Regions from separate parts of the Homo sapiens genome. Here all the other regions are linked to region 5. The links are contacts of gene promoters, found by promoter capture Hi-C in human tissues and cell types (Jung and others, 2019). All regions are on one chromosome and are shown on one strand. The core of a region is centred on a gene start or on the middle of the fragment in contact, and the rest is flanking DNA. Distances in the headings are between cores, read along the strand shown. Region 1 overlaps PTPRM (protein tyrosine phosphatase receptor type M). Region 2 has its middle 44 kb from the start of LRRC30. Region 3 overlaps PTPRM (protein tyrosine phosphatase receptor type M). Region 4 overlaps PTPRM (protein tyrosine phosphatase receptor type M). Region 5 holds the start of PTPRM (protein tyrosine phosphatase receptor type M). Region 6 overlaps LAMA1 (laminin subunit alpha 1). Region 7 overlaps PTPRM (protein tyrosine phosphatase receptor type M).

Region 1 (2,952 bases), core at 38-2,537, 340 kb after region 5:
GACACTTTTAGTCAATTAATCAGATTAAGAAAATTGATAACCCTTTTACTGGTTCTTTCTTTCTTTCCTTTTTTTTATTTTTTTTTATTTTGTTGAGACTGAGTTTTGCTCTTGTTGCCCAGGCTGGAGTGCAATGGCACAATCTCGGCTCACTGCAACCTCCGCCTCCCAGATTCAAGCGATTCTCCTGTGTCAGCCTCCTGAGTAGCTGGGATTACAGGCGTATGCCACCACGTCCACCTAATTTTTGTATTTTTAGTAGAGTTGGGGTTTCACCATATTGGCCAGCTAGTCTCAAACTCCCGACCTCAGGTGATCTGCCTGCCTCGGCCTCCCAAAGTGCTGGGTTTATAGGCCTGAGCCACCGCGCCCAGCCCTGGTTCTTTCTTTTTTGCCTTAATTTCTCTGAAGTGGCTCCACCATCTTAAAAAACTCCGCCATTCTTAGAACCTCCAGGCATGTAGGCCTTTTCCTCTTCTCTTGCTTCTCCAATTATCAAGGAAGAGCTAACGCCCTCTTGATTTTGCCACTGTGGACATTTTTATATTATTTTCCTCTTGATTCATAGCTTTATTGTCTGATTTTCAGTTAGCATATTCTCTTCACTGCATTATTAATAGGCTATCTTTCCTGGTGTCTCTGTCCTGAAGTGGAGTCTTCTGCAGCCTGGCCACAGCTGACCTTTGTGGCGGTAGGTCCCAATTCTCCCCTTGAAGGCCATGGTCATGACCACCTCAGGGCCTTCACATGTGCCCAGGACTGAGCCTGGTCCTCTTCACACTGTTAGCTCCTTCTCATCCTGTAGCTATTGGCACAGATTTCACCTCCTCATGGGAGGTCCTCCATGTGTATATTCTTATAGTACACTGCACTCTTCTTTCATTACACTTACTGTATTTTTTTTCACTTGTGTAAATCTTACTACCCCACATGGTCCAGTGTGGTCAGAGAGTTACTTTCAGAACCTTCAGAAAAGGTTTAGATCACCTAAAGCAATCTGAATCTTAACGTTGTCTCTTGAGGGAAAACAACCACAATCCAAATGTGTGTATGGCAGTGGGTTTAACATACAGTGCAACCTTAAAAGTCTTCTTTAGACTTTGTTTCATGTTCAGGATCTCTCACAAGCTCAACCCTGGCTTTGGGTGGGGAATCCTTTCTATCTGCTGAAACTGTTGGAGAGGTAACCCCAAAGCCTCTTCTATCTTGGTGTCCCCATCTTCCACCCAAGCAGCTTACCCACCAACAAGTTGCCGTCTGTGCCAACTCACTATCCTGTGAGCTTCCTTGCTTTTCCTACAGTGTATGTGTCATCCCCCGCAACCCCATGAAGTATCCTTTCACTATGGGTTTTCTAAGTTGGGGTTCTGTCTAACGCATTCACTACCTATTGACCTCCCTGAAGACTGGGGTGGGGTCTTGCCTATCTTTGTAGTCTAGAACCTGGAACATTGACTAGCAGATGTTACGTACATGAATGAATGAATTGGTGAAAGAATAAACGAAATTATGTGTCTTATATATAGGAGATACTTGGTAAAAGTAAGACAAAATGAATAAATAATGTAAATCTTTCTTAATTTTCCAGGTGATTTTTGAAGTGATAACTTCTGGACATCAAGGCTATCTCGCTATCGATGAGGTGAAGGTGTTAGGACATCCATGTAGTAAGTTGTCTTTATTTGTAAATATTCGGGTACATCATTGGGGGCATGTTTACATTATGAATGAAGAGAAGGGATGAAAACCTGTGAAGAGGTCATCTTGCCAAGACAGTTCCCTGACAGGCCTGTATTGTTGGTTTGCCAGCCCAGAAATCCAAAAGCATGTACTTTGTGTAAATGCCATGGTTTGTATAAGTCTTTTAAAATTTGGTTCAGGAATGGGGAATCAAGGAATTCTTTGGCATGCTCAGACATCTTTGCAAAGAACCTGTTTATTTGTTGCCGTGGTCTTTAGAATTCGCTTTTCAGTAGTAGCACAAAGTTAAATATTGAGAATCTGTGCGTTTTGTTTATAAGTCCAGTATGTTTTTGGCACAGTTCCTTAGTATTTATCACATGGTTTCAGGTGATATAGCTGCAAACAGGCCTGGGATCTGTCAAATAAAAGACACCTACCTAAACCACCTGGGGACCCCAGAAATGGCCTGCTCTTCATCTTTTAAAAATTAATACTTTAAAAAAGTACAATAGGTGATAAACATACAATTTTTAAAATTTCTACTATGAACAACTAACAGTTTGTCATATTTGTATGTGAACCTTTTTCCTTAAATAAAATAGTACAAATTGCTAGATCTGTTTCTCCCCAAACCCTGCCCCCCAGGGGCCACCACAGTGGTGAGCTGGTTGTTGCACCTGTTATGGTTTCTAGTCTGCACACAGCAACAGACTGTAGCTGCTTGAAGCAGAAAAGGCATCCTGTTGATAGAGAATTGGAGGGCAGTGGTATTCCTGAGAACACTAGTGGTCTAGACTCAGATGATGAGCAGGCCCCCAAAGTGAGGCTACGCAAGCAGCCACAGCAACCACTATGGCAGGGGAGCCAGCTGCGAGGACAAGGGGAGCTGGCGCTGTGTCTCTGTGCACCTTACCCTTGGAAGATGACCCTTGCCTAGACATTCTGCGCTGATTTGGGCCTTGGCATCTTTGGCCTTAGGTGCAAAGCCCTGAGGGGGATAGTCAGGGTGAGCGAGCTAGATCATGCACTCATTCATGCCTGGCAATTGGTGTCACTAGGAAAGTGAGTTGTTGGCTTTTCCCACTCTGTCAAGGGAGCTGGGCCTCAACTTTTACTGAGAAACATATAGTGCTGAGCAACTGAACACCGCAAATGTGTGTGTGTGTGTGTGTATGCGCATGTGTGTGCTCTTTCCCATAATCCCCAAGGGTTTATAAAAGCAAAAAAGTAAGGATTGCCTTTTATAAATGCTAATGAATGGTTTCCAGC
Region 2 (3,003 bases), core at 414-2,913, 380 kb before region 5:
GAATAGGAACATTTTCTTTTCCTTTTTTTTCTTTCTTTCTTTCTTTTTTTTTTTTTTTGAGACGGAGTTTCACTCTTGTCCCCCAGGCTGGACCGCAATGACGTGATATCGGCTCACTGCCACCTACGCCTCCTGGGTTCAAGTGATTCTCCTGTCTCAGTCTCCCAAGTAGCTGGGTTTACAGGCACCCGCCACCACATCCGGCTAATTTTTGTATTTTTAGTAGAGACGAGGTCTCACCATGTTGGCCAGGCTGGTCTTGAACTTCTGACCTCAGGTGATCCACCCACCTAAGCCTCCCAAAGTGCTGGGATTACAGGTGTGAGCCATGGCACCTGGCCAGGAATAGGAACCTTTACTACTTTGCATATCAATCTTTTCCTAAGCACCCATGACTGTGCCTGGAATATAGTTGGTTCTCAATATTTTTAAAAATAGAAATGAATAAACCGATAAAAAAGAAATATCATGCATAACTGCCACAATTGTTTCAAAAGAAATAGACCATTCAATCCAGCAATCCCACTACTGGGTATCTCCTCAAAGGAAAAAAAGTCACTATATGAAAAAGACAGATGCACATGCATGTTTGTAGCAGCACAATTTGTAGTCATAAACATATGAAACCAATCTAAGTGCCCATCAATCAATGAAGAGATAAAGAAAATGAGGTATATATACACAATGGAATACTACTCAGCCAGGAAAAGGAATGAAATAATGTTTTCTGTAGCAACTTGGATGGAGCTGGAGGCCATTATTCTAAGTGAAGTAACTCAGGAATAGAAAACCAAATATTGTTACGTTCTTACTCATAAGTAGGAGCTAAGCTATGAGGACGCAGAGTCATAATAATGATATAATGGACTTCAGGGACTTAGCGAGGGGAAGGTTGGGGCTGGTAAGGGATAATAGTCTACATATTCGGTACAATGTACACTGCTCAGGTGATGGGTGCAGTAAAATCTCAGAAACCACCACTAAAAAACTGATCCATGTAACCAAAAACCACCTGTACTCCCAAAACGATTGAAATTAAACAAAGAAATAGAAAGGAAAAAAATATTCCATCAATGCAAAGAAGGCAAGAAATGAGAGAAAAATAAATAACAACAACGAACAAACAGGATGAACAAATAAAAAGCACAAATAATATGGTAGAAATAAATCCAAATTAAACACCAATTATAATTCATATTAATGTGCTAAAAGTTCCAGCAAAATGACAATGATTTTAGAGAGAAATTACTAAAAGTAAACAGTTATAAGTTGTTTATTTGTATTTTATTTATTTTTGAGACGGAGTCTTGCTCTATTGCCCAGGCTGGAGTGCAATGGCACAATCTTGGCTTACTGCAAACTCTGCCTCCCAGGTTCAAGCAATTCTCCTGCCTCAGCCTCCCAAGTAGCTGGGACTACAGGCATGCCCCACTATGCCCAGCTAATTCTTTTTTTTTTTTAAGTAGAGACGGAGTTTCACCATGTTGGCCAGGGTGGCCTCGAACTCCTGACCTCAGGTGATCCACCGACCTCGGCCTCCCAAAGTGCTGAAATTACAGGTGTCAGCCACCATGCTTGGCTGCAGGAACTATTTTTTAAAAGCATCTAAAATATACAGGATCCAGAAAGGTTGAAAGTAAAACAACAAAAAAAGATAAACCATGTAAACACCAACCAGAAGAAACCTATTAATAGTAGGCACAATAGGCCGGGCAGAGTGGCTCACACCTGTAATCCCAGCACTTTGGGAGGCCGAGGCAGGCGGATCACGAGGTCAGGAGATCGAGACCATCCTGGCTAACATGGTGAAACCCCGTCTCTACTAAAAATACAAAAAATTAGCCGGGCGTGGTGGCGGGTGCCTGTAGTCCCAACTACTTGGGAGGCTGAGGCAGAAGAATGGCATGAACCCGGGCGGCGGAGTTTGCAGTGAGCTGAGATTGTGCCACGGCACTCCAGCCTGTGTGACAGAGCGAGACTCTGTCTCAAAAAAAAAAAAAAAATACTAGGTACAATCGATCTTATGGCAACAAACCCCCCAAAACTGGTAACACAGGGTGCTTTTTTTTTTTTTTTTTTTTTTTTTTTTTTGTGAGACTGAGTTTCTCTCTTGTTGCCCAGGCTGGAGTGCAATGGTGTGATGTTGGCTCACGGCAACCTCTGCCTCCAGGGTTCAAGCGATTCTCCTGTCTCAGCCTCCTGAGTAGCTAGGATACAGGCATGTGCCACTACACCCGGCTAATTTTGTATTTTTAGTGGAGACGGGGTTTCTCCATGTTGGTCAGACTGGTCTCGAACTCCTGACCTCAGATAATCCACCCACCTCAGCTTCCCAAAGTGCTGGGATTACAGGTGTGAGCCACCACGCCCAGCTGACAGGGTGTGGTTTTTTTTTGTTGTTTTTTTGTTTTTTGGTGGGTTTTGTTGGTTTGTTTTTTGAGACGGAGTTTTGCTCTTCACCCAGGCTGGAGTACAGTGGCACGATTTCGGCTCACTACAACCTCCTCTTCCCAGGTTCAAGTGATTCTCCTGCCTCAGCTTCCTGAGTAGCTGGGATTACAGGTGCCCGCCACCATGCCTGGCTAATTTTTTATTTATTTTTTGTATTTTTAGTAGAGACGGGGTTTCACAATGTTGGCCAGACTGGTCTCAAACTCCTGACCTCAGAAGATCCGCCTCAGCCTCCCAAAGTACTGGGATTACAGGCCTGAGCCACTGCGCCTGGCTGACAGGGTGCTTTTTTATGTCTTCTTTTTAAGAATTTTATTTTATTGTAAATTGACAAATTATAATTGTATATATTTGTGGTGCACAAAGTGATGTTATGATTTATGAATACAATATATTCATAATATAACAAATCAAACTAATTAACATATCCATTCCTTCAAATGCTTTCCTTTTTTGTAGTTAGAGGATTTGAAATGTACTGCCTGAGCAACTTTGAAATATACAATACACTATTATTAATTGTATTCACCATGCTGTGTACTGGATCTCCAA
Region 3 (3,427 bases), core at 212-2,711, 500 kb after region 5:
TTCATCTTTATTCTGGGTAGCCAAATGCCTAGCCAAGATTTAGGGATTTATTATCCAGGAAGAAGAGGAGACCAGGTGGTGGGGACAACTGGGAATATCTGTGACCTTTGGGATTGACCTGAGCCTTTATCTTTCTTCTCTCTCATGTTTTCTTTTGTCTTCTTTTCTAAATAGATCCCATGCGAGGCCCAAGAAAACTAGAAGTAGTGGAGGTCAAATCTCGGCAAATCACTATCCGCTGGGAGCCATTTGGATATAATGTAACTCGTTGCCACAGTTATAATCTCACTGTCCACTACTGTTACCAAGTTGGAGGACAAGAACAAGTGCGAGAAGAAGTAAGCTGGGATACAGAAAACTCACACCCTCAACACACGATCACTAACCTGTCACCATACACCAATGTCAGTGTGAAACTGATCCTCATGAACCCAGAGGGCCGGAAGGAAAGCCAAGAACTCATAGTGCAGACAGATGAAGACCGTGAGTACCTTTGAATGATATGTTTGTGTAAAACATGTTCTTTCAAAAAACAACTTTTGTTTCGAGATCTTTGCTGTGCAGATGGAAGAAAGAACTACTTATTTTGTTGAACAACACAAATGTGTATCTGTACTCTGTATTCTTAAGCGCTGATTGAAAGAGGGAAAAGGGAGTAGAGATATAGAAATGTCATTCTTTATTACTCATACAGTTACTTTTCTATATATAATCATTCCATATTGCTCTCAATAGTTCTTCAAGTTTTATTTCATTGGGCTGAAAAATTGTTGTTTTGGGTATTAGATTATTTATATAAAATCATTGGACTGAAAAATTGTTGTTTTGGGTATTAGATTATTTATATAAAATGTTTACCTAAATATATTTAAATGGCATTCTGAAACATTTTTCATAGTTCAGATAAAATTTCAGCACTAAATAGGGGCTGCCCTTGCTTTTCAACACAGTCTTGAGAAACTGTAAGTTGGTGGTCATGAAACAGGTCATTTTTCTCCACAGGAACAATGTTGAAACCGGATGTTACTTTAATAAACAACTACTTTACAAATAAACCATGCATGTCACCAGTAACGCATCAAAAAAGCAAATATACAGGAAACCTCCATAGTAATTTAAAACAGTAAAATTATGCCTTGAATCTCAATGCGTGGATATAAATGTTTCTTTACACAGATGACACAGGGAACCCTTGTGTGTAATGACATATTCATATAGTACATAAAATACAATGGTAGTATATCATAAATTTGACCTAAAAATCATTTTTCCGGCATCAAAATGAATGACAAAGAATGTAGGAAGACCATTAAACGAATGAACTGACTATTCCTAAGAAAAATAGTTGTTTAGCTTTTTGTTTCTTCATGTAACTGATAATGTAATTTTGACCATTGATTAAATTGTGAGTTGAATGTTTAGACTACTTTATCGTTTCATTTAAAGAGCTAAAAAAGTATTTTTGAGTGTTTCTACCTACCCAGCACCTGCGTATTTTTGTAGAAGAAAAACATAGAAATAGCTGGAGTAGATGAGGAACTCACTGCACATCCTTTCTTTCCTCTTTTATTGTCCCTCAAGTCCTGCTTGTGTTGGTTCCTCTCAAGCAGTTGTTTGAGAGGGAGTCTAAGTTTGATGGAAGCCACTCAGGCAAGGCTGAGACCAGAAGCTCTATTTCTGTTTCTTCCAACTCTCTCTCATCTCCCAGAAGAGGAGAAGATGGTGTCCACATTGTCATCAAGTTATGGCTGGCTCCTTCCTGCCTTACATTTCTCTATTGACTCTGGTCCTAACATCTGTTGTTTCTACTTCCAAAGTTTTAGATTGTTCTTTTCTGTCAATTTCCATTGGCTGTATTCAAATCCTTATTATTTTATGCTGAAATTTCTATAATTGTTTCTACCTTTTCTTTGTGGTTCCAGCCTTTTTCTATTCTAATGTCCCCCTACTCACTCACTCACTAATCTTAAAAATGTATTTTCATCTTGGCTGTCTCTCTACAAAAGTCTTGAGTGGCTCTTCACTTAATCTTCATTCCAGTGCCTTGGCTGTCAAGGTCTTCTGTATTCTTGGCTCATATTCTAGGAGTAATAACTTCTCCTTCACAGCATCTTGTTCTGCAAAGCCATCCCTGAGTGCTGGTCCCTGTGCCTGCTCTGTGCATCCTGGGCTTCCCATCGTTGCCTGATTGTTCTCCTTGGCCAGTCGGGGCCTCTCCTGGCCGCTTCTCAAGCTCGCCTACTCTGCTACCAGCTGAAGCTCTCCTCACATTTCAGGTCCTTCACATAGCTGTCTCCAGCTCTTCAGTCTGTGTTATTCACATCCCTCTGACCTTAATTGTACTTCATAAGATCCTTAACTCTCTGACCCTCAATTTCCTGATCTGAGAAGTGAGAATAATAACAATTCTTAGATACATTAGGGATAGAAGAAATTTATGTGGAGAGCTGGTTGTAGGCTGTCAGAAAGGGGCCTTTCTTAGTATTGTAATGATTCATAGCCACTCATGATTCTTCTTTGCTCCCTCATTATGTTATTTGTATGTATTTTTTTCTTTTTATTGTAAACTACTTGACAAGAAGTACTGTCTGTTTTTCTTCTATAGCAATAGGCGTGATATTGAGTAAGTAATAAACACCCCAAAATACCTTAGGTCTTTAAATGAAATAATAAAGTATTGTTGATAAGCATTTAGTTCATGTTTTAATAAACAATAATGGTTACATCAATGAGAGAAATAAAATGCAGTCACTTCCAGATATATATTGCTAAAGCATGAACCTATTGAACACTATGGGTTTCAAATTGAGAACTGTCATGAGCTAGGAATTCTGTTAAATTCCATCAAAACATGAGGACAGAATTACTTTGTTTGTTTAAATTATCTTGCTAGTCCCTGAAGCTGGAGCATGCATTACTTCCAAATAAAAATCTATTGTTTTCCTAGCACACTAGCGTTTCATTAATTAGAAAAAACTTTAATTTCAAATTATATTTTGTAACCCCTCCAAAAAAAATACTTCAGAAAAGGCAGAGAGAAGAAAGAAATAGAATAATTGTCAAACAGTATCCAGTTTGAAGAGAAAAGAATTGGGGAGTCACTTTGTTTATCCATCAACAAAAGTTATAATTCATTGAACATTGTGAGTTTTATTATAGTATAATACTTTTATTGAAATACAGTTTTTTTCATCAGAAATTGTGTGGGAAAAAATTTACCTTTCATTAATGTTAGTAGAATCCTATACAGCCCAGGGATAAGTTGTACAAACTTAGGTATTATGGCTTTATATCCCAGATCCTGAATTCCCAGAGCTTCTAAAAATAGGTACTAGACCTAAGTTACTATGAGGTACTATCTTCCGTAACTTAATTAGTAGTATATTAATTATTTATTCATATTGTTTTAATTTACATTGTCTTTCTC
Region 4 (3,400 bases), core at 296-2,795, 490 kb after region 5:
CTTTTACCAACTTTTCTTTTGAGTTGTCAGCTTTTTCTTGTGATTGGTGGAAGTTCTGTATATAATCAATATCTCTCGTTTGTTTAGTGGTTGCCAATGTCTTCTATTCTGTGCTTTGCCTTTTACTTTTCTACTAAATACCTCTTTATATCATTTGTCTTTATTGTGTTTGGTTGTTTTCCCTTCTTTACAATAATAAGGTTTTAGCTTAGGTTTTCACTTTCCTTATGATACATTTTGATAAATATGTTCTTAATTTTAGTGTAGCATAAATTATCAAGCTTTTCATTGATAGTTGGTGCTTAAGAACTATTTCTTTGCCCTGTAATCAGAAAAAATAATCCCCTACATTCTTTAATTTAAAAAATTAAATTTGGGTTTTTGTGCTTCTAATTGAGTCAGAATTGATTTTTGTATATGATACAGAGTAGGAATCCACTTCTCCTAGCACCACTTGTGTTTCCCCCAGGAATCAGAAACACCACCTCTATCATATAGAACATCAGGATTTCTGTTGTGCTCCATGTCTGTTCTTTCAGCAACACCACACTGTGTAGTTACTGTAGCTTTTAAATAACTCTTGGCATCTGATAGAACAAATTTTCCTACCTCATTCTTCCTACGGAGTGTTCTGTTTGGGGACCTTTGCACGTCTTTATTTACTTTAGAATCAATTTATCAAGTTCCTTAAAACTCTAATTAGGTTTTAATTGAAATTGTAGTGATTCTATAGATTAGCTTGGGGAGAACTGACACCTTTACCACATTGAGTCTGCCCATTCATAAACATGGTATAACTCCAATTATTTTGGTCCTCACTAATGTCTTTCAATGAGGTTTTGGATTTTTATCTGTTATTGGTGTCTTGTAAGATTTATTCCTGGGCTCCTTATATCATTTGATCTTGTTGTAAATGAAAAAAATTCAGTAATGTTTCAGTTTGATAATATACAAAAAATGCAGAGGAGTTCAAAATTAATCCCCTATTTGGTCACCTTGCTGACATTTGCTATTTTTGTATAACTTGTAGGTCCTGCTTGTTTGCCAAGCCTGTCACATTGTCTGTGTATAATTAAAGTGCTGTTTTTTCTTGTTTCATTCTTACACTTTTCATTTCTTACTGTACTGAATGGAACCTCCAGGAAAATGTTATAGTGAAACAGCTTAGATTTATTTTTTGTAAACAGATTATGGCACGATGTTGATTTTACCTTTAATTCTCTGGGCATTTTAATAGACAATATTTTATTTACATGTATTGTCATTACTAGTATATACTAGTAGTAATATATACTAGTAGTAGTAATATATATATATATATATATATATTACTACTACTAGTGGTAGACTTCTGTGTACCACTTTTCTGTTTGCTTTCTGGTTTTTCCTGTTTTTCTACATTTCCCCTCACCCCTTGCCTTTTTTCTTTTCTTTTGTTTTTTTCCCATAATTGACTGAAATAACTTTTTTTCTTTAGATGAGTTACTTGTTACTGAAGGTATTATCCTATGGCTATCTGTATAGTGATTACCCTAGAGAGTTTGCCTTGCATACTTAAAGTTTATAGTTGATATCTTAAACTTCCCTTCCCAGTGATGGAAAGATCTTACAACACTGTAACTCTGAGCATTGCCCTACCTGTGTGTATGCTCTTGTTGTCGGCAGTCTAATTCTGTATATATAAAAAGCTCTAAAATTAGACAGTATTGTTATTTTACAAACATAAGTTTTTATGTTTTTTTGCTCACCATTTCTTCTAGCATCTCAGACCTTCTTTCAAAACTCATTTTTCTTTTTGAAGGTGATCCTTTATTGCAGGTTCATTGGTAGTAAGTTCACTCAGGTACAATTCTTTGAAATTAGCTTTATTTTGTCTTGATCCTTGAATGATAGTTTTGCTACGTATATAGTTCTAAGTTGACATATTCATATTTTCTCTTTGTACTTTGAATATTTTGTTCCCTTGTTTTTTGCCTTCCACTGTTGTTGTCTAGAACTCTTTGTTCAATCTGCCATTACTTTGTAGGTGATGTGCTTTTTCTCTCTAGATGCTTTTGAGATCATCTCTTTGATTATTTTGGTGTTGGTGGTTTAACTACATTATGTCTAAATGTGGAATTTAATTTTTCTATCTTTTGTATATGTTATACTTTCTGTATCTTTTGACTGATATCTCTTGTCAATTCTGGAAATTTCTCAGACATTATGTCTTCAGTTAGTGCCTCTCCTCTATTCCCTGTGTTCTACTTCTGGAATGCCAATTAGACATAGATACACCCTCTAATTTTGCCCTCCATCTTCCTTTCTTATTTTCTATTATGTTCCTATTTCTATTTTTCTGTGCTACATTCTAGATAATTTCCTCTGATCCATGCACTACTTCACTAATTCTGTCTTAAGCTGTGTCCAATCTTGCTGTCTAGTTTTATACAGTACATAATTAATGTCCTATCCATTGAGGTTTTTGTTTTATTTCAACAGTGTTTTTATTTCTAAAAGTTACGTTAGCTGTTTTTAAAATTGGTCATTTTCAGTGACGTATTACATGTTCATTTTTAGAATTACATTTTTAATTTTAGAAGTGGCACGCAAATTTTATATTCTGAATCTGGTAATTTGAGTGATGTGAATCTGTTGTTTCTTATCTCTTTTGACTCTGTCAGGGCATCTTGTTTTCTGTTATTTTTGTTAATCTTTACTAGTGAGCTTATATTTGGGTGGGCTTTATTTGTGAAAGTAGGAGGCCTATATTTATGTATCAGTGTGTTTATAGAAGATTTGTATTTGTGTTTGCTGGAATCAGGAGATGGTACTGACTGCAGATACTTTACACACTGTTATTCGTATGAGATTACCTTGAGAACATCATATTTGGCTTCCCTGCCCCTGGCCCATGGCTTAATCTTTGGATGCCGGTGCTGATATAGACAACTAGAGTTCCACCTTACCCTTTGTTTTGGATAAGGGACATGGTGTAAGGTGTTGCTGGAGACACACTACATCCTACGCAATTAAAAAAATTGTCTTATACCGGATCTAGTTGTTTTCAAATGGGAGAGTCCTTGAGAGTAAATGATATGCCATTCTGTTATAATCAGAAATTGTAATAATTACTTTATGGATGTATTCTTCATTTATTAATTTATCTAATTATTTGATGAGTCTGAATATTTTGCTTTCATACAAACACAATAATAATATGATATAATGAGTGGTTGTTGAGAGAAATTCTTAACATAAACCTTTGTCAAATACAGTTGCTATAGCCAAAGAAAGAAATAGTTCTATGTATTGTAAATCTCTATTTGAAATACTATGCCAAATAAATGATGCAACTCATAATCGCACATTAGGGCTGGTTGCAGTGGCTCATGCCTGTAATCTCATCACTTTGGGAGGC
Region 5 (3,390 bases), core at 493-2,992:
GATTAGATCAACTTTTGTCTCCCTAGCTTCCACCTCTGTCCTCCCACTAGCAGAAAAACTCCATTGGAAAGCCTATTACTAATTTTTTTTAAAGCAAATTTGAACTGCAGTATAGAACACAAGTACATCAAAATGGAAAGCCCAGGTTGCAGATTTGACCATCCTCACTTGCTGATCTTGAAGACATTGCTTCCTTTCTGAGATTTCAATGTTCATTTCACAATTAAAGATAAGGTTCCATAAGCACATAGTTGGGAGAAGTGGCAGGACAATGTAAGCTCATATTAACAAGCAAATGATTAATATAGAGACTTCTAAAGAGCAGGTCTGGTAAGTATCTAGTAAGTGGACTTCCTGAAGTAAGAGGAGTGTTGGTTGCCACACTAAAGGCAAGTCTTCTAGTCCCCAAATTTGCCTTGGGAGGATGACAGCTGTATCTTTCTTGGTTCTGGTGTACAGTGGAGAACAGGGTCAAGATGAGTGTGGAATCCATTTATTTTTTTACGTGTTTATAAGCACTAGAAAGCAGTGAGCACTAAGCAGAGGACCCCTCTTGCGGAAAAAGTGCAGGAGAGCTCCTGGGTGCCTCTGTATCACCGGTTTGCCTTCTAGCCAGAATCATTGCTAGAACCCTGTCACTCAGTTACTTTGGTTCCTAATTTAACCTCTTCCCAAGCCTTCTATTGCGTTCAGTTAGCTAGGCCAGGAGCTTACAGCTGTCTGGTTGGTGCTGGCTCAATGTGCTTATTCCCTGGAAGATAGAAGGATCACTTACAAAAAAATTTACAATTAAAATAAAAAAATTATTTTTTGCTGAAGCATTGTAAGGTTTTTTTAATTCACTCAGACCCAAAATCGTAAAACTAAAATATTTCAAGACATTACTTGATTCACCCCCCACTTCTCTTTCTCCCCTGTTTCTCAGCACTTTGCACCAGATACAGAAACCACGGGTTATGTCCAAACCCTGGTTTTGGTGTGACCACCGCCTTCCGTGTACTGCCTGCGGCTCGCTTCGGGCCCACACGGGACACCGAGGCATGATGAGGACGCAGAACAGCAGAAGCGCGCCCTGCTTCCCGGGCGCCAGTGCTCGGGGCCAGCGGCGTGTACCCGGCGGGCCCGGCCGGGAGCGGGCTGGCGATCGCGGGGCTCGGCGCTCCCGGCTCCCGCGCCATCTCCCGGCGCCCGCCAACTTCGCTCCGCCCGCGGCGTAGAGAAGCTCGCAGCCCTCCGGAGCCTCAGCGATCTCCTGGCTCGCTTTTCCCGCAGCCGCCGAGCAGCGCAGGCCCGGCGACTCCGGGTGCAGCTGGCCCTGTGCGGTGACATCGCCGTCCGGCGCCAGGCTCGAAGCCGCCTGGCCGCGCCCGCGGGGTCGCAGGCCGCTGGTCCCGCCCGGCCGCGCTCACAAACTACTCGCGGCTCGTGACCCGGGACAAACTTCTGGCGGCGGCGCAGCCTCTTCCACAGTCACCCTCCCCAGAGCCAGCTACCAAAATAGAAGACGCGGCCGGGGCGAGGAGGTGGGCGGGGGGAGCCCGGTGGCCGCTCCTCCCCGCGCGGCTGACGCCCGCTTCGGCGGCGGTAGTGGCTGTGGCCGCGGGGCCGCCCCCAGCCGAGCTCCCGGAGGCGCTCGGGCGCGGGCCGGCGGGGCACGGGCGCTCACGCCCTCTAGCGGGCCGCGGCGGCGCCGGGCGGCCGTGACGTGAGCGCTCCCTTCAGCCGGCCTGCGGGGCACCGCCAGTCAGTCGGGGAGCAAGAGCCCCGCGCGCAGCCGGCGCGGGCTCGGTCATCGGCGCGCCGCCGCCCGGGGCTGGGCTTGGGGCTGCCTGTGGAGAGGCGGCGGGCGGAACGCGCGCGGCCACGGCCACGGCCACCGCCACGGCCACGGCCGGCAGCTCGGGTCCCGGGTCCCGGGCAGGGGAAGGGGAGAGGCGGCGAGCTCAGCAACCGGAACCGAGGGAAGATTTTGGCTCCGCGGGCTCGCCCTCCGCTCCCTCTGCCAGCGGCGCCAGACGCCGAGTGGGGCCAGGGACAGGGGAGGAGGACCCAGGACCCTGTGCCCGCGCCCCTGGAGCCGCTGGAGTTCGGACTTCTGCAACTGTTGGCACTTTGGGGGCTTGGCTTAGCGCTCTGCTGTTTACCCGTCTCTCCTCGCTGCCTCGGAACCAAAGCTCCCGGCCCCCTCCGCCCTCGCGCGCCCACCCACCGCCGCCGGGGAGCGGCCCGGCCCGCACTCAGCACCATGAGGGGACTTGGGACTTGCCTGGCGACTTTGGCCGGACTTTTGCTAACTGCGGCGGGCGAGACGTTCTCAGGTAAGCGGGACCGCCTCTGCCGCCCCCGAGGCGCGCGGGCCGGCGCGGGACGCCCGGGACGCCGACAGCTCCCTGGTGGTAGAGCCCTAAGGCTGGCGTCGGGGCCGGGCGGGGGGCGCGGCGGGCCGGACACCGCTTCTGCCTGTGAGCCGGGCGCTGGGCGAGGGGCCGTGGGGCTGGCAGGCACCCAGTCCTCGGGCGGGCGGAGCGGACGGACCCCGAGGGCGAGCTCCCCAGCCGGGACTGCCAGCTCGGCCGCCGTCCTTCCGCGGCCTGGGCTAGTGCTCAAGGTTGGGCGGCTTGCACTCTTGAGTCCCTGGCCGGCTGCAAAAGGAACAGCAGAAAACTTTGCTTGAAGTTCCCAGTTGCAGCCGCCGGGCCGCCTGGCGTAGGCGCTGCGCGGTCCCCGCCGACCCCGAGCAGCGGCCGGGCCCAGGCCGCTGGTGTTCGGCTGCGCCCGCAGCGATCGCCGGGAACTGGCGGCCGCTCCGGCGGCGGCGATCTCCCGGTGCCCTGCCCTCCCTGTCGCCCCCTGCCCGGCGCGGCTGGCGACCCCGGGAGGTCCCCGCGGTCGTGCAGCGTCTGCGGAGAGGCTGGGGGGAGTTCCTCGCCGGTCCCAGCGGTAGGGCTTGGCGGCCGCGGAGGGAAGCGGGCAGGTCCCCAGGCCCTGGCCACGGCCCTGCGCCCCGCTGGGCTCCCCCTCCCCACCCTCGTCCCCCTAGCGGAGCGCCGCGGCCAGCTGCAACTTGTTCATCCAGCCCGGCTGCCCGGGGGTCCCAGGTGGGAAGGAGAGGCACTGGCGGTGTGCGAGCAAGCGTGTGAGTGTGTGCGCGTGTGTGCCTGCACGCGCGCGCGGGGGCGTTCTAAGCCCAGAGGAACCCCTCACGGAGAGGATCTGTGGATCGGAGTCGGGGGTCCGGCGTGGGGGCGAACCCGGCACGCTGTCACAGGGGTTTACAACCAGGATGACCTTTATTACCTGGGTGACACAGGTGGATAGACGGCAAATGCTGGCCCATTTGCACACCTTCTTTCTAGTGTTTATTAGATTAGTTTCATTAAGGTCCACATG
Region 6 (3,030 bases), core at 459-2,958, 500 kb before region 5:
AGATTTCTTCCAATCTATTTATTTTACCAAGCAAATTCAAGAAACCTTAATATTTGAAATTGGTGGAGGCCAGTATGAAGTAATAGAAAACTGGAATAGAATCATTAGAGTACAAAAAGCATACAGTAAAAGTAATTTCTATCTGAGTGCTTCTAGGAAGGGTTTCTGCCTAATCTCTTTCCAGGAACAGCCAAAATTCACTTGTAATGAGACGCTCCAATTTAGATGCAATTCTTGCAATAAAAATCTTTAAAGATTTTATCTTAAGAATGTGAAATTTCCCTATTTTCTTGTTGACCTTGTCGATGTGCTTAATAAATACTTTATATTTGAATGATATAATAATAAACCTCACTCAATACTGGTCAATTTTTCAGAAATTTGGGGGAAAAAACAACTGACATCTGAATTAATGAGGTTTTACAAAACCCAGCACACAAGCAGCTCTTGTCTAAAAGTTTGCATAAAACAAAGGCTCCTCTGTGATTATGTTCCCACAACAAAGTGCTACTTCCTAATTAAACCTACACATAAAATAAAGCACTGCTCCAAAAGGCAGCTTTATTTTCAATGCCATAGGGAACTTCCCTTTTTTACAAAACAGATCTTATCTTCTAAAAGACTATTATACATTTTTACTCACAAATCTGACCCTCACTCCCACTGAAATGTTCTCCGGCTTTAAAAGTTTTTTAAGGAAAATAGGAGATAACTGATTTATTTTCCTGCTTCTTGATCAAAAAAAAAAAAAAAAACACGTTAGGTAGCACCCAATTCTATCAGCCACTGCAAAAGCATGAAGGAAGTGTCAATACCCTGCTGGATTCATAGGGGAGAGGACCCTACTGAGCAGGCAAACAGAACAAGAGGGAAAGGGCTAGAATCTGAACACTCCCAACATCAAGAGGGAATTGCAAGAGCTCTTGCCAGTCTCCCCATAAAGTCAGAACAAAGGAAAACAATAATTGGAGACCAAAGACAAGGAGACAGCGTGGCATGGTGTAGAGGGAACCAGAGGTCCTGGTTTCCAGGCCTAGCTTGAGCACCTGCAGCCGTAGACTCTGGGCAAGCCTGTGACCTGCTTACTCTGTGCCGTGATTTTTGTACCTGCAAAGAGGCGATCACTCGCATTCCAGAACTGCTGGGAAAAGCAGATGAAATAACATGGACGAGGAAAAAAATGCTATAACCCATATCTATAAATTCCTATATATGTACCTGTTAATAACATTCCTCTTTCAAAAGATGCTCAAAACAAAATTAACCATAAATTTGTCATATAAACCTCAAACATGATTGATACTCACTGTATTACTTCATTGGTATACATACGAAATGAACCTTTTTTCACTGAAAGCTCAAGTTATTACCCATAACAGAAAAAGCACCAAAATGTCAGGCCTGAGGATTCTTAGGCAAATGATGCGTAAGCCATATAGAAACTATTAATGCAGCTTTAACAATTATTAATCATGAGTTTCAGTTATACTGGGAAATGTTCATGCTATACAATTACATAAAACATTAGAACACAAATTTATATATCACATAATCTGTCTCAGCTGGAGGGTCAGAGTGGTGCAATGATGCAGAGCTCAGGCTCTTAAGCTTCAGTGAGTCCTACCCTTGAGCAAGCCTCTTAAACTCTCTAAGTCTCAGTTTCGTCATCTGTCAAAAGGGGATAATAACAGGAGCCAAGTCACAGGCGATTATGAGAATTCAATGACATAATCCTGATCAAGTGCATAGCACAATGTCTGGCACAGTAAGTATGTAATACATGATAGTATTGTTGTAGCATTATTAAATGCATAGAATTGTAGGCAAATGACAAAGTAAATATCCCAAGGGATCAATTAGCGATTGTTACAGAGCGAAGAGATGATGTGTTTCTGCCTGTTTACACTTATCTTATCTTCCATTTTTCTATGATGATTCCATCTTAATTTCCTAATCAGAAAAAACAGAATAATTATTGACTTATGAATTTCTCAAAATCTGCATAACTGCACTCCTTAATCCTGTTAGCTAACTGTAATTAGATTCTATTAAGGCCTGGTTTAACATTTCCCTTGGTGATATCTGAAGATCTTTGGGAACCTAAAGTAATTTGTGTATTAGAAATATGACAGAGGGAAAGAAAACTCATGTTTATTAAATGTGAGGAGTTTGTTAGGTACTCTACATCCTTCAAGCTATCACATTTCACTTTGTATATATCACCCTACCACACTTCATGCATCTCCACCACATCACACCACCAAAACCCAATAGTTAATACATAAATGGAACTGCTTCTGTATTTCCTCCATCCCTGTCCTGAAGGTCCCAGGACCAAGCTGGTGCCCTGATGCAGTCTCTCGGCTGAGAACCAAGAATACCTAGTTTGTAATGTATTAGACAGCAGTCCATGATTTCTCCAGGAGAATTCTAAAATTTGCATTTTCATTCCAAAGTTATTCTAAAAAACTTAATATGAGCATATTTAGGATGTGGCTGACCACCATAATAACAAAATCCTGCCCCAGGATGTCGAGGGCTGCTCTGTCTCTGTGTTTCTGTTGGTATACTGGTGCAAGTGACCACCTACTGAGAAGAAGTGTTTGCGCTGGTTGCTAAGCACCTGCCAGCCCAGCTTTGGATGCTGAGGCTGGGACGCTGCAAATCGATGCTCCCTGACGGCGACACTAGTGGGAGGCTGGAGGGCTGGAGGGAGGCAGGACTTCTCCCATGTCTACTTCCGGGTCCTATCAGCCTTGCCCAGCAGCGGCCCTCTGCCTTGGGCTGTAGCAGCTGACTCCAGCCTCCAGCTTTCCAGGACCCCCAGAAGAGCATTCTGAAAGATAGGAGACTCTCTTCCCAGGCTCTAGGTGCTATAACCACACCCTCCTGCGTTGCTGCCTCCTCCACCACTACTACCCCCAAGTTACCTTCCTGCTCCCTCTCCCAGCTCTCCCACACTGTCAAACCAATTCCTCACACTAAATTTGTGCCTTTAAATGACTGGTGTGGCTTCCATATTCCTGACTG
Region 7 (2,997 bases), core at 477-2,976, 470 kb after region 5:
CTGAGATTCTTCTCAGTATGATCTCAAAATTCAAAACCATTAAATAAAAGATTGATGAATTTGACTACATAGTTTTACATCTATTCATATAAAAAATATTTTTAAAAGAGAAGGACAAATGACAACTTAGAGAAAAAATTTAAAATCTGAAGTAAAAATAACTTCAGTCTATTATAGGGTCTTAAAAATCAATTAAAAAATGAATACTATAATATAAAACTGGGCAAAGGATTATAACAGGCAATTTGTGAAAACAGAGATAAAAATACTTATTAAACATATTTTAAAAGTCAGTACCAGCTCTAAGCACAGATGTAACTATACATATGTACTATACATACACTGTATGTATCATGACTATACACTATATGTATAGACACTATACAGTCATGTGTCACTCAACAATAAGGATATACTCTGAGAATGTGTCTTTCACCATTTCATGGTTGTGCAAACATCGTAGAGTGCACAGACACAAACCTAGATGGTAGAGCCAACTACACACCCAGGGTATATGGTGTGGCCCATTGCTCCTAGGCTACAAACCTGCACAGCATGTGACTATACTGAATACTGAAGGCAACTGTAACACAATGGTATCTATTTGTGTAGAAAAGGTACAGTAAAAATGCGGTATTGTAATCTTATGGGACCACTGTCTTATACACAGTTTGTCATTGACCAAAATACCATTCTCTGGGGCATCACTGTATAGATTTGTTAACGTCTATCAAACCGAAAAGTTTGTTTTTAAATGATAGTACCTGAATTATGGACTGATAACCTTTTACTAGTTATTGTAACAAATTTCTAACTTCCTAACATGAACTTTATAACTTAAGGCAACAGAAATTTATTCTCACACAGCCTGCAGAAGTCTGAAATCAAGGTGTTGGCAGGGCCGTGCTCCTTTCAGAAGCTTTAGGGGAGATTCCATTCCTTGCTTCTTCTAGCTTCTGGTGGTTCTTGCCACGTGCTGGTTCATTGGTTTCATCACTCCAGTCTCTGCCTCCATCTTCATGTGGCCTTCACTTCATTTGGTTTTCAAATCTCCCTTGTGTATCTCCAGAAAGGTACAGATTATTGGATTTAAGGTCAACCCATGTAATCTAGGATGATCTCTTCATCTCTAGATCTTTACATTAATTACCTGTGTAAAGTTTTTTTTTTTTCCGAACTAGGTCACATTCACAGGTTTTGAGACACAGACTTATCTTTTGGGGAACCACTACTCAGCCAACCCTCTGACCCCAAAACATGGTCCTCCAGCCCATGTGTAAAATACGTTCACCCTATCCCAACATCTAAAAGTCTCAACCCACTATAGTGTCAAATCTAAGTCCAAAATCCCATTTAAATATCTTCAACTCAAAAGTACCAAGTTTCATCATCTAAATCATCTGAATCAGATATGTCTGAGCCTCTGGGTGTGATCCATCTGTGGGCAAAATCTCCATTCATCTGTAGACCTGTGAAACTAAAAAAAAAGTTATCTGCTTCTAAAATACAGTGATGGGACAAGCATAGGATAGACATTCTCATTCCACAAAAGAGAAACTGGAAGGAATAAAGGGGCCACAAGACCCAAGCTAGTTTGAAATCCAGCAGATCAAACTCCATTATATTTCAGAGCCTAAGAATAATACTCTGTGGCCCAGTGCTCCACTCTGGGCTCACAGTTCTGCCGGCTTCTGCTTCTGGGCTCAAGGCTCTCCCCTAGGGATTGTTTTCCTTTTCCTTGAACAATAGTATATATTTTCAGCCAAGTGGCTCTATCAGCCTGTTTTCTTCCTGTAGAATTCCGGAAGTCTAACAGCCTTCCTTCATCTCATCCTGTCTCTGTCCTCATTCTGTCCAAGCTGGTAGTGTTTGTGCTGATACAACATTTTCATAAGCCTAGTGGGTCTCCTGTGTATGTTAGAGGATCCAGGTCATTAGACAAGAGAGGCCTCCATGGAATTTTCAAGGATAACCCCATTCTTATTCCTGGCTTCTGCTGACATGGCTGATTGGATCCATGAGTCACACACATAATCCCCTTAGCAAAGGGCTGTCCAGCCATTCCCTTGACCCTCTCTCCAGAGCACCTTTCCCCACAGTGGACAGCCTAATTTTAATATCCTTTGCAATCTGGATAGCCGAGAATCTTCCAAACTATCAAATGCTGATGTCTTTGGCTTAATAGTTTCTCAATTCGTCTCTTTTCCACTTCCATTTTATTATAAGCAGCAATGAGAAACCAGGCTGCATCTTCAAAATTTGGCTTGGAAATTTCAGCTAAATTGAATAAAAAGTTTAATTCTTAGATTTATTCTATCTGTGAAGAAAAATAACCTGCAAATCATGCAGAAAAAATATAATCATCCCTCAGTATCCAGGGGGGATTAGTTCCAAGACTGCCCCCCTCCTCCCCACCAGGACACCAAAATCTGCAGCTACTCAAGTCCCTGATATAAAGTGGTGTGCCATGTGCACACCCTCCCATAGCCTTTAAGCCATCTCTAGATTGTATATATTACCCAATACAATGTAAATGCTATGTAAATAGTTCTTATACTATATTATTTTTTATTTGTATTATTTTTATTGTTTTTTTCCCCCAATATTTTTGGACCGAGGTTGGTTGAATCCGCAGATGCAGAAATTGCAGATACGGAGGGCTGACTGTACCTATAAAAAGAGGACAGATCCCATGTTACGTGTTCTCTCCACAAAAGAAATAAACACAAACTGGAGGGGTACAAGGAAACTTTTGGAGATGACAGACATGTTTATTACCTTGATTGTGGTACAGGAGCACATGGATATATGCAAATTCATCACATTGTATACATTAAATATGCACAGTATTTTGTATCTCGATTATTTTTTAACAACCCTGTTTTTTAAAAATTGAGGTTCAAGGTGAATAAGGAAATAAGCTACTTGAAATGATTTTATAATACTGACATATTTATTATGCCTCAGTGTATATCTTACTGAGTATCTTAGAGCACC

Evidence for each region. The method cuts DNA at HindIII sites, captures the fragments that hold promoters and counts their contacts. A contact is called where the count stands out against the background at its distance.
Region 1: a contact is called between a fragment that was not itself captured here and the fragment with the promoter of PTPRM in region 5, in 2 of the 25 tissues and cell types used here (dorsolateral prefrontal cortex and spleen).
Region 2: a fragment that was not itself captured here is called in contact with the fragment with the promoter of PTPRM in region 5 in 2 of the 25 tissues and cell types used here (heart left ventricle and mesendoderm cells).
Region 3: a contact is called between a fragment that was not itself captured here and the fragment with the promoter of PTPRM in region 5, in 2 of the 25 tissues and cell types used here (lymphoblastoid cells and mesenchymal stem cells).
Region 4: a fragment that was not itself captured here is called in contact with the fragment with the promoter of PTPRM in region 5 in 1 of the 25 tissues and cell types used here (mesenchymal stem cells).
Region 6: a contact is called between a fragment that was not itself captured here and the fragment with the promoter of PTPRM in region 5, in 2 of the 25 tissues and cell types used here (lymphoblastoid cells and thymus).
Region 7: a fragment that was not itself captured here is called in contact with the fragment with the promoter of PTPRM in region 5 in 1 of the 25 tissues and cell types used here (mesenchymal stem cells).

Annotation. Positions count from the first base shown.
Region 1 is chr18:7,904,917-7,907,868 of GRCh38, forward strand. It overlaps PTPRM (protein tyrosine phosphatase receptor type M), which reads left to right. Exons shown (of 33, transcript NM_001105244.2): 4 at 1,589-1,667. Among named protein-coding and RNA genes, the nearest start is that of PTPRM, 340 kb to the left of the region's middle. The HindIII fragment of the contact is 4,661 bases long and covers 1-2,952 here.
Region 2 is chr18:7,185,205-7,188,207 of GRCh38, forward strand. No RefSeq gene overlaps it. Among named protein-coding and RNA genes, the nearest start is that of LRRC30, 44 kb to the right of the region's middle. The HindIII fragment of the contact is 6,611 bases long and covers 1-3,003 here.
Region 3 is chr18:8,069,512-8,072,938 of GRCh38, forward strand. PTPRM (protein tyrosine phosphatase receptor type M) reads left to right here. Exons shown (of 33, transcript NM_001105244.2): 8 at 175-483. Among named protein-coding and RNA genes, the nearest start is that of PTPRM, 500 kb to the left of the region's middle. The HindIII fragment of the contact is 4,913 bases long and covers 1-3,427 here.
Region 4 is chr18:8,052,994-8,056,393 of GRCh38, forward strand. All of the region lies in intron 7 of PTPRM (protein tyrosine phosphatase receptor type M), which reads left to right. Among named protein-coding and RNA genes, the nearest start is that of PTPRM, 490 kb to the left of the region's middle. The HindIII fragment of the contact is 4,024 bases long and covers 1-3,400 here.
Region 5 is chr18:7,565,574-7,568,963 of GRCh38, forward strand. It overlaps PTPRM (protein tyrosine phosphatase receptor type M), which reads left to right and starts at 1,743. Exons shown (of 33, transcript NM_001105244.2): 1 at 1,743-2,318. The coding sequence starts at 2,246. RefSeq lists a silencer at 1,424-1,793. The HindIII fragment of the contact is 7,623 bases long and covers 1-3,390 here.
Region 6 is chr18:7,070,167-7,073,196 of GRCh38, forward strand. The region is part of intron 3 of LAMA1 (laminin subunit alpha 1); the gene reads right to left. Among named protein-coding and RNA genes, the nearest start is that of LAMA1, 46 kb to the right of the region's middle. The HindIII fragment of the contact is 8,767 bases long and covers 1-3,030 here.
Region 7 is chr18:8,032,987-8,035,983 of GRCh38, forward strand. All of the region lies in intron 7 of PTPRM (protein tyrosine phosphatase receptor type M), which reads left to right. Among named protein-coding and RNA genes, the nearest start is that of PTPRM, 470 kb to the left of the region's middle. The HindIII fragment of the contact is 3,709 bases long and covers 1-2,997 here.